Linked DNA regions of Homo sapiens: regions 2 and 3 are each linked to region 1. Evidence: promoter capture Hi-C in human tissues and cell types (Jung and others, 2019). All regions are on one chromosome and are shown on one strand. Each heading gives the region's core, a stretch centred on a gene start or on the middle of the fragment in contact. The rest is flanking DNA. Distances are from core to core; before and after follow the strand shown.

Region 1 (4,514 bases), core at 695-3,194:
TTATGTAAGCCCAGGAATTGGAGGCTGCAGTGGGTTATGACCAGACCACTGCACTCTACCCTGGGTGACAGAATGACACCCTGTTCAAAAATAAGAAAGGAAAACAGAAAAACCTATAGATTAAAAGGACTTAAAACAGTAATCAACCAACTGCAATCTATGGACATTATATGAATTCTGATGTAAAAAACTAAAAATATATGAGGCAATTTGGGTAATTTGAATAATAATTGGGTATTTGAAAATGTTATATAATTATTATTAATATTTTGAATCAAAATAATTGCTAGGCGCAGTGGCTCACATCGGTAATCCCAGCACTTTGGGAGGCTGAGGTGGGTGGATCGCTTGAGGTCAGGAGTCCAAGACTAGCCTGGCCAACATGGTGAAATCCTGTCTCTACTAAAAATACAACTTGGGAGCCTCCCTACTCAGGAGGCTGAGGCAGGAGAATCGCTTGAACCCGGGAGGCGGAGGTTGCGGTGAGCCAAGATTGCACCACTCTACTCCAGCCTGGATCACAGAGCGAGACTCCATCTCAAAATAATAATAATAATAATGGTATTGTGGTTATGCTTTCAAAAAGAGCTTTTTGTTTTTTGAAGACATACCAAAATCATTATACATATGGAATTTGCTCTGAAATTATCTCTGGGAAGAGAGAGGTCAAAGTAGGTAGGACACAGATTCAACAGAGGCTTGACTTGGTAGGTGTGGAAGCTGAGTGATTGGGCACACAGGATTTCATTATATGAAGCTGAGGCATACCAAAAAAAAAAATGCCAGTTTTGTTGATCAAAAATGGTAGAATATTGACAATTGCATATGGCTCAACCTAGTATTTTGCTCTTTACATAGCTAAAGGCTTTGAAAAACTGAGCCTTCATGTATCCATCAGTTTCATGAGTGTTTACTGAGTAGACACAACCCAATAATCTGGGCATGACCTTATAAAACCAAATTCCTGAAAATTCCCAGTAATGCCACCATGGTCCCAATACTCAGTGAGAATCTGGCTGCAGACTTAGTCAGCCAACCACTCTCTCCATGTACATCCATTAGGGTAGGCTCTAGTTTCTCCTTTTGCAGAACTGAATGAAAGCCATGATCCCTTTATAGAGAGTTGTTCTGTTGAGGTTGAGTGATGAAAGCAGGCAGCCCTGGGTCTTGGTGACAGATCACTGGGTGGACGTGGGAAAATGTTTGGAGTGTTTCTTAGTTCTTTTCTTTTTTTTTTTTTTTTTTTTTTTGAGATGGAGTTTCGCTCTTGTTGCCCAGGCTGGAGTACAATGGTGCAATCTCGGCTCACCACAACCTCTGCCTCCTGGGTTCAAGCGATTCTTCTGCCTCAGCCTCCTGAGTAGCTGGGACTACAGGTGTGCACCACCATGCCAACTAATTTTTGTATTTTTAGTAGAGACAGTGTTTCACCATGTTGGCCAGGATTGTCTCAATCTCTTGACCTCATGATCCACCCGCCTCAGCCTCCCAAAGTGCTGGGATTACAGGCGTGAGCCATCACACCCGGCCATTTCTTAATTCTTTAAGTGATGAGGAACATTGGCTTCCAATAAGAATGGAACCTTCTGATATAAGAAGCCCTGGGCATTGGAAAGACTGAGTTTAGAAGACAGGGAGAGTTTGTTCCTGGAAGAGAGGGTGCAGAGAAAGTTAGGAATCATGCAACTTACCCCTAAGTTGCCTCATGAAGACATAAAATGCTTCTTACTGCCACGTCCCAGCCCCCATAGGAAACAGAACTATTCAGGGACTAGAGATGAAATTGGACAATTTGTGTAACAAGGAGCTTGGGGAATTGACTTCTTATTGGCCCAGAAATTGTAAATATTCCCTCGGTTCCTACAACTTATCCCCCACCCTAGCTTTTCTTCTTTGGACCAGGAGGACAACTTCCCAGTATTTCTATGTAGCATCTGCTGGCCCAAACATCTAACTTCATCATCTAGTACCTGCTGGGAGGACACTGAGCCAGTTTAACTCATGCCTGGGTGATGGTGTCAAGAAGAGGAAAGATAGCCCAGTGAGTGAGCTGAGAGAGAGAGAGAGAGAGAGAGACTGAACGAATGTTGGTAAAATTAATGAAGCCAAGCTCAATGATCTCAGATACACTGGAAGATTCTTTTTTATTATTTATTGATTTACTGATTTATTTATTTTAGAGACAGAACCTTGCTCTGTTATTCAGGCTGGAGTGCAGTGGCACAATCACAGCTCACTGCAGCTTCTACCTCCTGGGCTTAAGCAATCCTCCTGCCTCAGCCTCTAGAGTAGCTGGAACTACAGGCATGTGCCACCACACCCAGCTGATTTTTTGAACATTTTTCCCCCACCGAGATGGAGTTTTGCTCTTGTTGCCCAGGCTGGAGTGCAATGGCACGATCTTGGCTCACTGCAACCTCTGACTCCCAGGTTCGAGCAATTCTCCTACCTCAGCCTCCCGAGTAGCTGGGATTACAGGCATACACCACCATGCCTTGTGAATTTTGTATTTTTAGTAGAGACAAGGTTTCACCATGTTGGTCAGGCTGATCTCGAACACCTGACCTCAGGTGATCACCCGCCTCAGCCTCCGAAAGTACTGGAATTCACTGTGCTCGGCCGACACTGGAAGATTCTGTCTGGTCAATCAGCACCCACTTGTCAGCCCAGAATCCAATGGCTCTTCTTACCAAACTAGCTCAGCCTGGTTTAGTTGTGATGCTACCAGTCCTTTACCTAAAAACCATGATTATTTGTAGCACTGTTTTTCTTCGTAACTAGACTTTTTTTTTGAAATGGAGTCTTACTCTGTCACCCAGGCTGCAGTGCAGTGGCATGATCTTGGCTCACTGCAACCTCCATCTCTCAGGTTCAAGAGATTCTCCTGCCTCAGCCTCCCAAGTAGCTGGAATTACAGATGCCCGCCACCACACCCAGCTAATTTTTGTATTTTTAGTGGAGCTGGGGTTTCACCATAATGGCCACGCTGGTCTCCAACTCTTGACCTCAGGTGATCCACCCGCCTCAGCCTCCCAAAGTTCTGGTATTACAAGCATGAGCCACTGCGCCCAGCCTGGACTTTCTTTTCCAAGCCCACTTGAGTGCCTGAAGGAACAGATGGCTTCCTCCTCAGTACTTCTGTAGGCAGAAGTTTGTGTTATTCCCCATGTTGGGTCTTGGAAGCCCTTGGAGATTCCCAAGTATTCCAGGCTGAGAGATCTTAGACACAGAGTGCAGAGGTCCAGATAGGATAGGACTGGTGCTTCCTTGGAGAGAGGCTCATCAAGAAGCTTAAGGGATGAATCTTCGGGTTCCTGATACTTAAATTTTTCCCAAGAGCTGTGGAAGAATGAGGAGTGACAGAGTAATTCAGTGAAAGCTTAGGTGTCAGGGCAGGAGGATGTCTGAGATCAGTTCCTTGATTCCATTAGTAGTTTAATCACAGAGCATTCACTGGCTTCCTTGAGATGGAAAAATACTCTGACTCGGCCAGGCACGGTGGCTCACACCTGTAATCCCAGCACTTTGGAAGGCCGAGGCGGGCGGATCACCTGTGGTCAGGAGTTCAAGACCAGCCTGGCCAGCATGGTGAAACCCCATCTCTAGTAAACATACAAAAAAATTAGCCAGGTGTGGTGGTGGGTGCCTGTAATCCCAGCTACTCGGGAGGCTGAGGCCAGAGAACCATTTATATCCGGGAGGCAGAGGTTGCAGTGAGCTGAGATTGCACCATTGCACTCCTGCCTGAGCAACAAGAGCGAAACTCTGTCTCAAAAAAAAAAAAAATACTCTGACTCCTTTTAAAATGTTTTAATTGTATATATTTATGAGGTACATAGTAATGTTTCCATATATGTAATGTATAGTGATCAGATCTGGGTAATTAGCACATCTATTATCACAAACATTTATCATTTCTCTGTGTTGGGAACACTCAATATCCTCCTTCTAGCTGTTTAGCTATATAGCATATTATTGTTAACTGTATTCATCCTACAGGGATATAGAACACTAGAACTTATTCTTCCAATTTGCCTGTAGTTCTGTATGCTGTAACAAATCTCTTCCTATCTGCCCCCTCCCTCTACCCTTCCCAGACTCTAGTATCCTCTGTTCTTTTTACTTCTATGAAATCATTTTTTTTCTTTTAGCTTTCACATGTGAGTGAGAACATGCAGTGTTTAACTTTCTGTTCCTGGCTTATTTCATTTATAATATGCTCCAATTCTTTCCATGTTGCTGTAAATGACAAGATCTCCTTCATTTTTATGGCTGAATAGTTTTCCATTGTGTATTTCTACCACATTTTTTTTTTTTTTTTTTTGAGACAGAGTTTCGCTCTTGTCACCCCGGCTGGAGTGCAATGGCACAATCTCAGCTCACTGCAACCTCCGCCTCCTGGGTTCAAGCGATTCTCCTGCCTCAGCCTCCCAAGTAGCCAGGATTACAGGGGCCCACCACTACGCCCGGATAATTTTTTGTATTTTTAGTAGAGACGGGGTTTCACCATGTCG
Region 2 (4,514 bases), core at 542-3,041, 240 kb before region 1:
GGCTGTGTGTTACAGTGTGCTCCTTAGCCTTGCTGTCTGTGGATGGCTCAAGTGTTAACCAGCTCAGTGCCCTCTTGGTACCCAAGTCCTTGTCCAGCATCCAGGAAGAATCAGGTCACACATAGACTTGAAGGATGAATGCCAGGGTTTTGTTGAATGGGGGAGGTGGTTCTCAGTGGGATGGATGGGGAGCTAGAAGGGGGATGGAGTGGGAAGATGATCTTCCCCTGGAGTTTGGCTGTCCAGTGGCTAGTCTCCTCTCTGACTGTCCCCAGTTGAACTCCTTTCGGCATTCAGATGCTCCTTCTCTTCTCTCTGCTGTGTCGTTCTGCCATTCTTCTGCTTGTGGAGCCTGGGGTTTGAGGTTTATATGGGTATAGGATAGGGGAGCATGGTGGGCCAAAAGGTGACTTTGGGGCATGAAAACAGGATTGTCTGTTCCCATTTAGGGCCACAGGTCTCCAGGCTTGAGGGTGGGGCCTTTGCTGGGGAACCTCCCTCTTCTACCCAGTATTTCCCTGTCTCCTGTCCATATCATCAGTAATGTAGTTTGGATATGTGTCCCCACCAAATCTGATGTTGAATTGTAATCCCCAGTGTTGGAGGTGGAGCCTGGTAGGCGGTGCTTGGGTCATAGGGGCAGATCCTTCATGGTTTGATGCTGCCTTTGCAACAGGGAGTCTGTACTTGTGAGATCTGGTTAAGTGTGTGGCACCTTTGCTCCCCCCAACTCTCCCTTGCTCCTGCTCTGGCCATGTGACATGCTGGCCCTCTCTTGTGACATGCTGGCCCTCCCTTGGCCTTCACCATGATTGGAAGCTTCCTGAGACCTCTCCAGAAGCTGATCAGATGCTGACATCATGCTTCCTGTACAGCCTGCAGAACTGTGAGCCAATTAAACCTCTTTTCTTTAAAAATTACCCAGTCTCAGGTATTTCTTTTTTCTTTGTTTTTTTTTTTTTTTTTTTTTTTTTTTTTTTTGAGACAGGATCTCACTCTGTCATTCAGGGTGGAGTGCAGTGGTACAATCACAGTTCACTGCAGCCTCAACCTCCCAGGCTCAGGTGATACTCCCACCTCTGCCTCCTGGGTAGCTGGGACTACAGGCACGCACCACCATGCCTGGCTATTTTTAAAAATCTTTGTAGAGACAGCATTTTGCCATGTTTCCCAGGCTGGTCTCGAGCTCTTGGACTCAAGCAACCTGCCTGCCTAGGCCTCCCATAGTGCTAGGATTACAGGCGTGAGCCACCGAGCCTGGCCAGGTATTTTTTTTTTTTCTCTTGTTCTTTTTTTGAGACAGAGTCTCGCTCTGTCACTCAGGCTGGAGTGCAGTGGCGTGATCTTGGCTCACTGCAACCTCTGCTTCCTGGGTTCAAGTGATTCTCCTGTCTCAGCCTCCCAAGTAGCTGGCATTACAGGCGTGGACCACCATGCCTGGCTAATTATTGTATTTTTAGTAGAGACAGGGTTTCACCAAGTTGGCCAGGCTCCGGTCTTGAACTCCTGACCTCAAGTGATCCACCCGCCTGGGCCTCCCAAAGTGCTGGGATTATAGGTGTGAGCCACTGCGCCCGGCCAGGTATTTCTTTATCACAGTGCAAGAACAGCCTAATACAATCATTTTCACCAATTCTGGTGTTCCCAAGGGATGACATGGTGCGAAACCACAACACACAACTGAGAGTTGCCTTTGGGACTTCACGAAGGTGGAAGACTGTTCTCTTAGTCCAACATGAACCAGTCAGGGGTCACGTCAAGGAAGGCTCAGAGACTGTGTCCGACCAATATGGTTTATTTCTGCCCCAGCCAAGCTTCTTTGGACCCTGGCTGGGGGAAAGGCACCCCAGGCACCGGCAAGTTCCAGTCATTGCAGATCCTCCAGGTCTAGGTGTGACTGGTAGTAGCCTGGGCACTGTTGCTGGACGTTGTATTCTCCTTCCTTCTTCCGCCGGCGGGTGGTCACCTATGAGGGTGAGGAGGAGGCGTGAGAATGGACTGGTCAGCCGTCCAGGGAGAGGAGACCACAGGGGTGAGAATATGGCCAAAGCCAGAGGCCTTATGCTTCCTCTGTCTCCCTTCATTGTTTCATTTAATTTCTCCCTCAGTTCTTTTCCTCTTTTCACCACTTTCTTTTCTTCTGTCTCCTTGTTTCACTCTCGGTTTAAAAAAATTTTTCCCCCTCCGATATCCCCTTCATTTCTCTCTCCTTTTGCCTCTGAATTTCTTTATCAATATATCACATATCTACCAATGATCTATTTATCTATCATCTAGCTATCAATATTTATCAACCTGTCAATCAATTATCTACCAATCAATAACCATCAATTATCTCTCACCTCTCAATCATCTCCTATTTATAATCCATCAATCATCTATCAATCACCTGTCATCCATCAATCATGTATTTATCATCTACTTATCAATATCTATCAACTATCTGTTACCTATCAATTTATTATCTACCAATTATCTATCAAAATAATCTATTTATCATCTACCTATCAGCTATCCACCAATCATCTGTCAACTATCAATCATCTATCGCCTGTCTTCTGTCTAAATACCATTTCTCTCTCATCTCATTCTCAGTCTCTTTCTCTCTGGCTTTTGGTCCTGATCTCAGCCCCCTCTCTCCCTCCCTTCCTCCTCTACATCTGTCCAGCTTAACTGAGGCATAACTGACATAAAATAAACTGCACACATTTAAAGTGAATGTTTTGATAAGTTCTGATCATAACTTATTGAATCGTCACCACAATCAACATAAGGAACATCCATCCATCATCCCCAAAACTTTCGTCCTGGCCAGGCATGGTGGCTCACTCCTGTAATCCCAGCACTTTGGGAGGCCAAGGCGGGTGGATCACCTGAGGTCAGGAGTTCGAGACCAGCCTGGCCAACATGGTAAAACCCCGTCTCTACTAAAAATACAAAAATTAGCTGAGTGTGGTGGTGCGCATGTGTAATCCCAGCTACTTGGGAGGCTGGGGCAGGAAAAACGCTTGAACCCGAGAGGCAGAGGTTGCAATGAGCTGAGATCGTGCCATTGCACTCCAGCTTGGGCGATAGACTAAGACTCTGTCTCAAGAAAAAACAAAAAAAAAACAACAAAAAAACTTTCTTCCTGCTCTTTTACAATTCCTTTTTCCCTGCCACTGCAAACACATTTTCATTCCCAGGCAACCGCTGATCTGATTCCTGTCCTTACAGATTAGTTTGTATTTTCTAGAATTTGTCTATTAAGGGAATCATATGGCATGTACTCTTTTCTTCATCTGGATTCTTTCACTAGGCATAACTATTTTGCAATTTATACATGTTGCTGTATAATTTATTAATGTATTAATAATTCCTTTTTGTTGCTGAATAATATTCCATTGTCAGGATATATTTGTTAATGGACATTAGGGTTGTTTTCAGAGTTTGGCTATTACAAACAAAGCTGTTATGAACATTTACTTGTGTACAAGTCTTCATATAGACATATGTTTTTATTTCTCTTAGATAAATTACTAGTAGTGGGATGGTAGGGTCTTACGGTAGGTGTGTGTAATTTTCAAAGAAATGGCCAAGCTATTTTCCACTTTCACTTTATGAGAGTTCCAGTTCTGTCACATTTTCACCAACACTTGTTATAGTCAATCTTTTCAATTTTATCCATTCTTGTGAAAAGTGGCCTCTCATTGTGACTTCCGTGTACATTTCCCTAACGACTAATTTTGTTACATTTTTCCCTCTTACATTATTTTATTTACACTCTTTGCAATCACTTTTTCTCTCAATATCTTGTAATCAGCATATAGGTTGTGAAGTTTTTGAGATCTGCATAACATAGTAACTATAGTTAATAATAATGTAGATTTCAAAATTGCTAAGAGTATAGGTTGCCAATGTTCACACCACAAAGAAATAATAAGTATGAGAGGTGAGGGACATATTAATTAGCTTGATTGAGTCATTCCATAATTGTACATATACCAAAGCATCACATTGTATCCCCTAAATATATGCATTCATTATTTGTCAATTAATTAAAAATAAAATTATAAAAAGAAAATAGGAAAGCCACTCCGTGAACTGGGAGAAAATATTTGCAAAACATATATCCAGCAAAGGACTTGTGTATAGTATAGTATGGTTTTATAATATATTAAGAACTCTTACAACCCAATTGTTAAGAAGACAAGCAACCCTTCCTTGCTCACCAGGACACCGCAGATCAGGCATGTGATGACTCCCAGGAGTCCTGCCAAGCCGATGAGGATGACAGCCCAGAAGGGAAGGTCTGGGGAGACAAGGGCTGGGGTGAGCCACCTCCTGCCACGTCCCAGGGCTCCTTCTTGGACCCTATGTGGCCTGAGGATGGGCACAGCCCTGGGGAAGAGAGCTTAGTGGCTCAACACCTCATGCCTCTGATGCCCCCAAAAACTGGGCCCCCAGAAAGCCAGGATCCCTGCTATCCCTTTACTATGCCTCAATAGTCTTTGCCATGGGTTGGCAATTTTGAT
Region 3 (4,514 bases), core at 1,137-3,636, 160 kb after region 1:
GTGCCCGGCAAATTTTTGTATTTTTAATAGAGATGGGGTTTCACCATATTGGTCAGGCTGGTCTCGAACTGACCTCAAGTGATACACCCGCCTTGGCCTCCCAAAGTGCTGGGATTACAGGCATGAGCCACTGTGCCTGGCCTGAATATTCCCTCTTGAATAGGTCGTTTTTTCTTTTTTAAAATTTAGTCGAGATGGGGTCTCCCTAGGTGGCCCAGTCTGGTCTCAAACTCCTGGGCTCAAGTGATCCTCCTGCCTTGGCCTCTCCAAAGTGCTGGGTTTACAGGCCTGAGCCACCACACCAGGCCCCCTCTTTAATTTTGCAATTGTATTCTCCCATTCCATAGGATGTCTCTTCACTCTATAGATTGTTTCTTTTGCTGTGTGGGAACTTTTTAGCCTGATGCAATCTCATTTTTCTGTTTTTGCCTTTGTTGCTTGTGTTTTGGGTTCTTATCCAAAAAATCATTGCCCAGTGTAATTTCATGGAGGATTATTCCTATGTTTTCTTTTAGTGGTTTTGCATTTTCAGGTTTACTGAGACCTGAGATGAGGAGCTAATTTCATTCCTCTGCATGTGGTTTTCCAGTTTTCCCAGCACCATTTATGGAAGAGACTGTCCTTTCCCCACTGTGTGTTCTCGGCATCTTTGTCAAAAAATGATTTGCCATAAATTCATTGATTCATTTCTGCACCACCTCTTCTGTTCCATTGTCCTTTGTATCTGTGTTTCTATTGGTACCATGCTCCATTTTCTTAACAGAACATTTTGATAGAGAAAAGTTTTAAAATTTGATGAAGTTCAATATATCTATTTTTTTGTTTTGTTACTCATGCTTTCACTGTTGTATCTAACAATCTGCTTCCAAATAAAGTGTAATCAAGATATTCCTGTATGTTTTTTTCTAAGAGTTTTATGATTTTAGCTACATTATATTTAAGCTATTGACTTTTTATTTATTTATTTATTTTGAGACACAGTCTCTCTCTGTCACCCAGGCTGGAGTGCAGAGGTGTGATCTCGGCTCTCTGCAACCTCTGCCTCCCGGGTTCAAGTGATTCTCCTGCCTCAGCCTCCCAGGTAGCTGGGATTACAGGTGCCCGCCACCACGCCTGGCTAATTTTTGTATTTTTGATGGAGATGGGGTTTCACATGTTAGTCAGGCCGGTCTTGAACTCCTGACCTCAAGTGATCCACCCGCCTCGGCCACCCAAATGCTGGGATTACAGGCATGAGCCATTGCGCCAGGCCTGTTGATCTGTTTTTTATTTGATTTGATTTTTGTACATGGCAGAAAGTAGGGTTCAATCTACTTTCCTTTGCATCGAGTTTGTTCTTGGAAGGGTTTAGTTTGTTGTGCTGTGAAACACCTTATTAATAACATCCACTTGGCAGCAGAATGTGTTAGCCTAGGGTTCAATCTGTCTAAGTGGTGGTTGTCAGAGAGATCATTGGGTTTATAAAAAGGTCACAAAGGCAAGATTATGTTTGACAGAGCCCTGCTCATGAACATTCAGTTCCTCAGCAGACCAGCCTCTTGTCCATGACAGATCAAGGTCTCAGAACTAAGTGGATGTTGTAGGTCCATTAGGCAAATGTGAATTTAAATATCCCGGCTCGACCAGGCTTGGTGGCTCATGCTTGTAATCCCAGCACTTTGGGGGCTGAGGTGGGTGGATCACTTGAGGTCACGAGTTCAAGACCAGCCTGGCCAATGTGGTGAAACCCCATCTCTGCTAAAAATGCAAAATTAGCTGGGTGTGGTGGTGGGTGCCTGTAATCTCAGCTACTTGGGAGACTGAGGCAGGAGAATTGCTTGAATCTGGGAGGTAGAGGTTGCAGTGAGCTGAGATTGCGCCATTGCATTCCAGCCTGGGCGACAGAGTGAGACTTTGTCTCAAAAACAACAACTACAAAACTAAAAGAAAACAAGAAATAAATATCCTGGCTCTTTTTCTCCTGAAAATCACATGCTTCATTTTTACTCTTCCCAAAACACTTGTGATTTGGCTTTTGCTACATGTTTTTACTTTAGGTTCTCTCAGTAACTCCCTTGGTAATTTCCTTCTAACTTTTCCGTTTTATATACAGTCTTTAAAGTTCCATCTTTGGTCCATTTTCTTAGAGCCACTCTTGAGAGTTCTCACGTGTTGTTTGAAACACTTATCATATCGAGTGCTGATATGATGACATGCTTTCCTCAAAAATTACCCATTTGCATGTTAGCACCCTTCACCTAAACTTGGTTGTGTTCTTGTTTCCTCTGGAAGAAATTGGATGAAAATCATACAATAGTCAAGGCAACGTGTTTCCCTTTTAGGATTGTGCTTGTTGCTTTACATGTATGGCTTTATTTAATCCTGAAAACATTTCTTTCTTTTTGTTTTTGTTTTGTTTTGTTTTGAGACACAGTTTCACTCTGTCACCCAGGCTGGAGTGCCATGGCGCTATCTCAGCCCACGGCAACCACCTCCCGGGTTCAAGCAATTCTTGTGTCTCAGCCTCCCAAGTAGCTGGAATTATAAGTGTGCACCACCACACCTGGCTAATTTTTTTTGTATTTTTAGTAGAGATGGGGTTTTGCCATGTTGGCCAGGCTGATCTCAAACTCCTGACCTCAAGTGATCCACCTGCCTCGGCCTCCCAAAGTGCTGGGATTATAGGCATGAGCCACCACAGTTGGCCCTGAAAACATTTCTTTGACATGTCTTTTCTCATTCACCTTGTTCCACAAAGGAAGAAGCAGATAGAGGTGAACTATAACCTGGCAACTTGACGTTGAGACCACACTCCAACTTTGCTATCCTTTATTTCATAAGAACAGTGATGTGATTTTTCACATCAAATTAGGAATGTAGATTTGTAAGCTTGTTTGTTCTGATGATTCATAGTAATGAACTGCCTAGAATAACTGAGACGTTGCTTCCTTCTTTGTGATTATTCCTTTTCTTCCCTCCCTCCCTCCTTTTTTACTTTCTTCCTTTCCTCTTCTTTCTTCCCTCATTCCCTCCTCTTTCTTCCCTCATTCCCTCCTCTTTCTTCTCTCATTCCCTCCTTCCTTCTTGTCTTTCTTTCTTTCCTTCTTTATTTGACCTTTATTTCCCATAATTGCAGTTTTATGATCTAACCCCAGATTGTAGAACATGTAATAATTATACGATAGAAAAGATTTGTTCTCTCATATAGTTTAATTTTCTTCTGAGACTTTCTGGAGATGTCTTCAGGAATGGAAGCCACAGAATGTGGACTGTGTTTGGGATGCAGTTCACCCTTTTGATGAGAACTGGTAGAACTGGGTCTGCAGTGAAGGATGGGGTAGTAGATGGTGTCAGGGTTCATCCCACATCCCTAAGACCCTCCCGCCATCTCCACACACACCATCCTGTCTGCCAATGGTCAGCATCAGCTGAGGGATCCACTTTCCCCAATGCATGGTGGCAGAAAGGTAATGAATGCTTACAATTTTATGTTGCTCTGGCATTTTTTTTTTTTTTTTTGAGCCAGTGTCTCACAGTATTGTGCAGGCTGGAGTACAGTGGCTCACTGAAATCTTGAACTCCTGGGCTCAAGTGATCCTCCTCAGTCTCCCAAGTAGCTGGGACTACAGGCATGCATCATCACACCCAGTTAGGGGGTCTCTCTATGTGACTCAGGCTTGTCTTGAAATCCTGGCCTCAAACCAGGATTGGCCACCTTGGCTTCCTGAAGCACTGGGATTGTAGGTGTGAACCACTGCACCTGGCAGGCATCTATTTTGAATACAGGCTTAGCTTTCTGATGCTAGAGGCAGGGTTCCATTGCCTTTGACACAGTTTCCAATTCCACACCACCCTCAAATGGCTCAAGCTGGTGCAATTGTTGCTCCTTGCATCATCCTTTGAAAGTGCAAGTTGTAAAAGTTTATGGATTCACCTCAGAGGGTTTATCTGAGAAGTTGCCTCAAGCAGTTAGAAGATACAGCTTCCTGATGCAACTTCAGCTGCAGAGACCAGGGAAGGAGGGGAGGCCTTAGAGGCCTGAGACTTCTGCTGGCATCCTTCTCACCAGGCTGCCTCCTCCCGGGAGAGTCCCTCCTTCAGCCCCAGTCCCTGTGCAGGAGCCTGGTTTCTGGAAAAGGCCCCACAGCCTGGTGGACACAGACCCAATTCCAGTATCAGACCCATCAGTGACCACTGTGTTGGGATTCAACAGCCTCTCCAGACTGTGATTCTCACTGGCAAAATAAAAAATCTGTCTGTCTTTATTTGATCAGGAGTACTAAGGCTCCAATGAGACAGTGTATTTGAAAAACCTTGGGAATCCACTCTCCAAAGCCTAGCAGGTTTTGTTACTATTATCCAACTCAATGTACAATTCTAAGGTAAATTGAAAAAATGTATAAATCCATTAAAAAGAAAAGTTGAAGGTCTCACATTTCCTGGTTTCCAAATAAACTACAAAGATCCAGGAATTAAAACAGTGTGGTACTATAATACATAAAGACACATATACAGAAAAATGGAAGAGTAAAGAG

The links. The method cuts DNA at HindIII sites, captures the fragments that hold promoters and counts their contacts. A contact is called where the count stands out against the background at its distance.
Region 2: a contact is called between a fragment that was not itself captured here and the fragment with the promoter of OR1M1 in region 1, in 1 of the 25 tissues and cell types used here (thymus).
Region 3: a contact is called between a fragment that was not itself captured here and the fragment with the promoter of OR1M1 in region 1, in 6 of the 25 tissues and cell types used here (dorsolateral prefrontal cortex, heart left ventricle, lymphoblastoid cells and 3 more).

Annotation. Positions count from the first base shown.
Region 1 is chr19:9,085,117-9,089,630 of GRCh38, forward strand. It overlaps OR1M1 (olfactory receptor family 1 subfamily M member 1), which reads left to right and starts at 1,945. Exons shown (of 2, transcript NM_001004456.2): 1 at 1,945-2,041. The HindIII fragment of the contact is 13,481 bases long and covers 1-4,514 here.
Region 2 is chr19:8,847,065-8,851,578 of GRCh38, forward strand. MUC16 (mucin 16, cell surface associated) reads right to left here. Exons shown (of 94, transcript NM_001414686.1): 93 at 4,212-4,291; 94 at 1,780-1,966. The coding sequence ends at 1,868. Among named protein-coding and RNA genes, the nearest start is that of MBD3L1, 17 kb to the left of the region's middle. The HindIII fragment of the contact is 5,188 bases long and covers 1-4,385 here.
Region 3 is chr19:9,239,864-9,244,377 of GRCh38, forward strand. It overlaps a transcript of OR7E24 not described here. Among named protein-coding and RNA genes, the nearest start is that of OR7E24, 8.8 kb to the right of the region's middle. The HindIII fragment of the contact is 9,125 bases long and covers 1-4,514 here.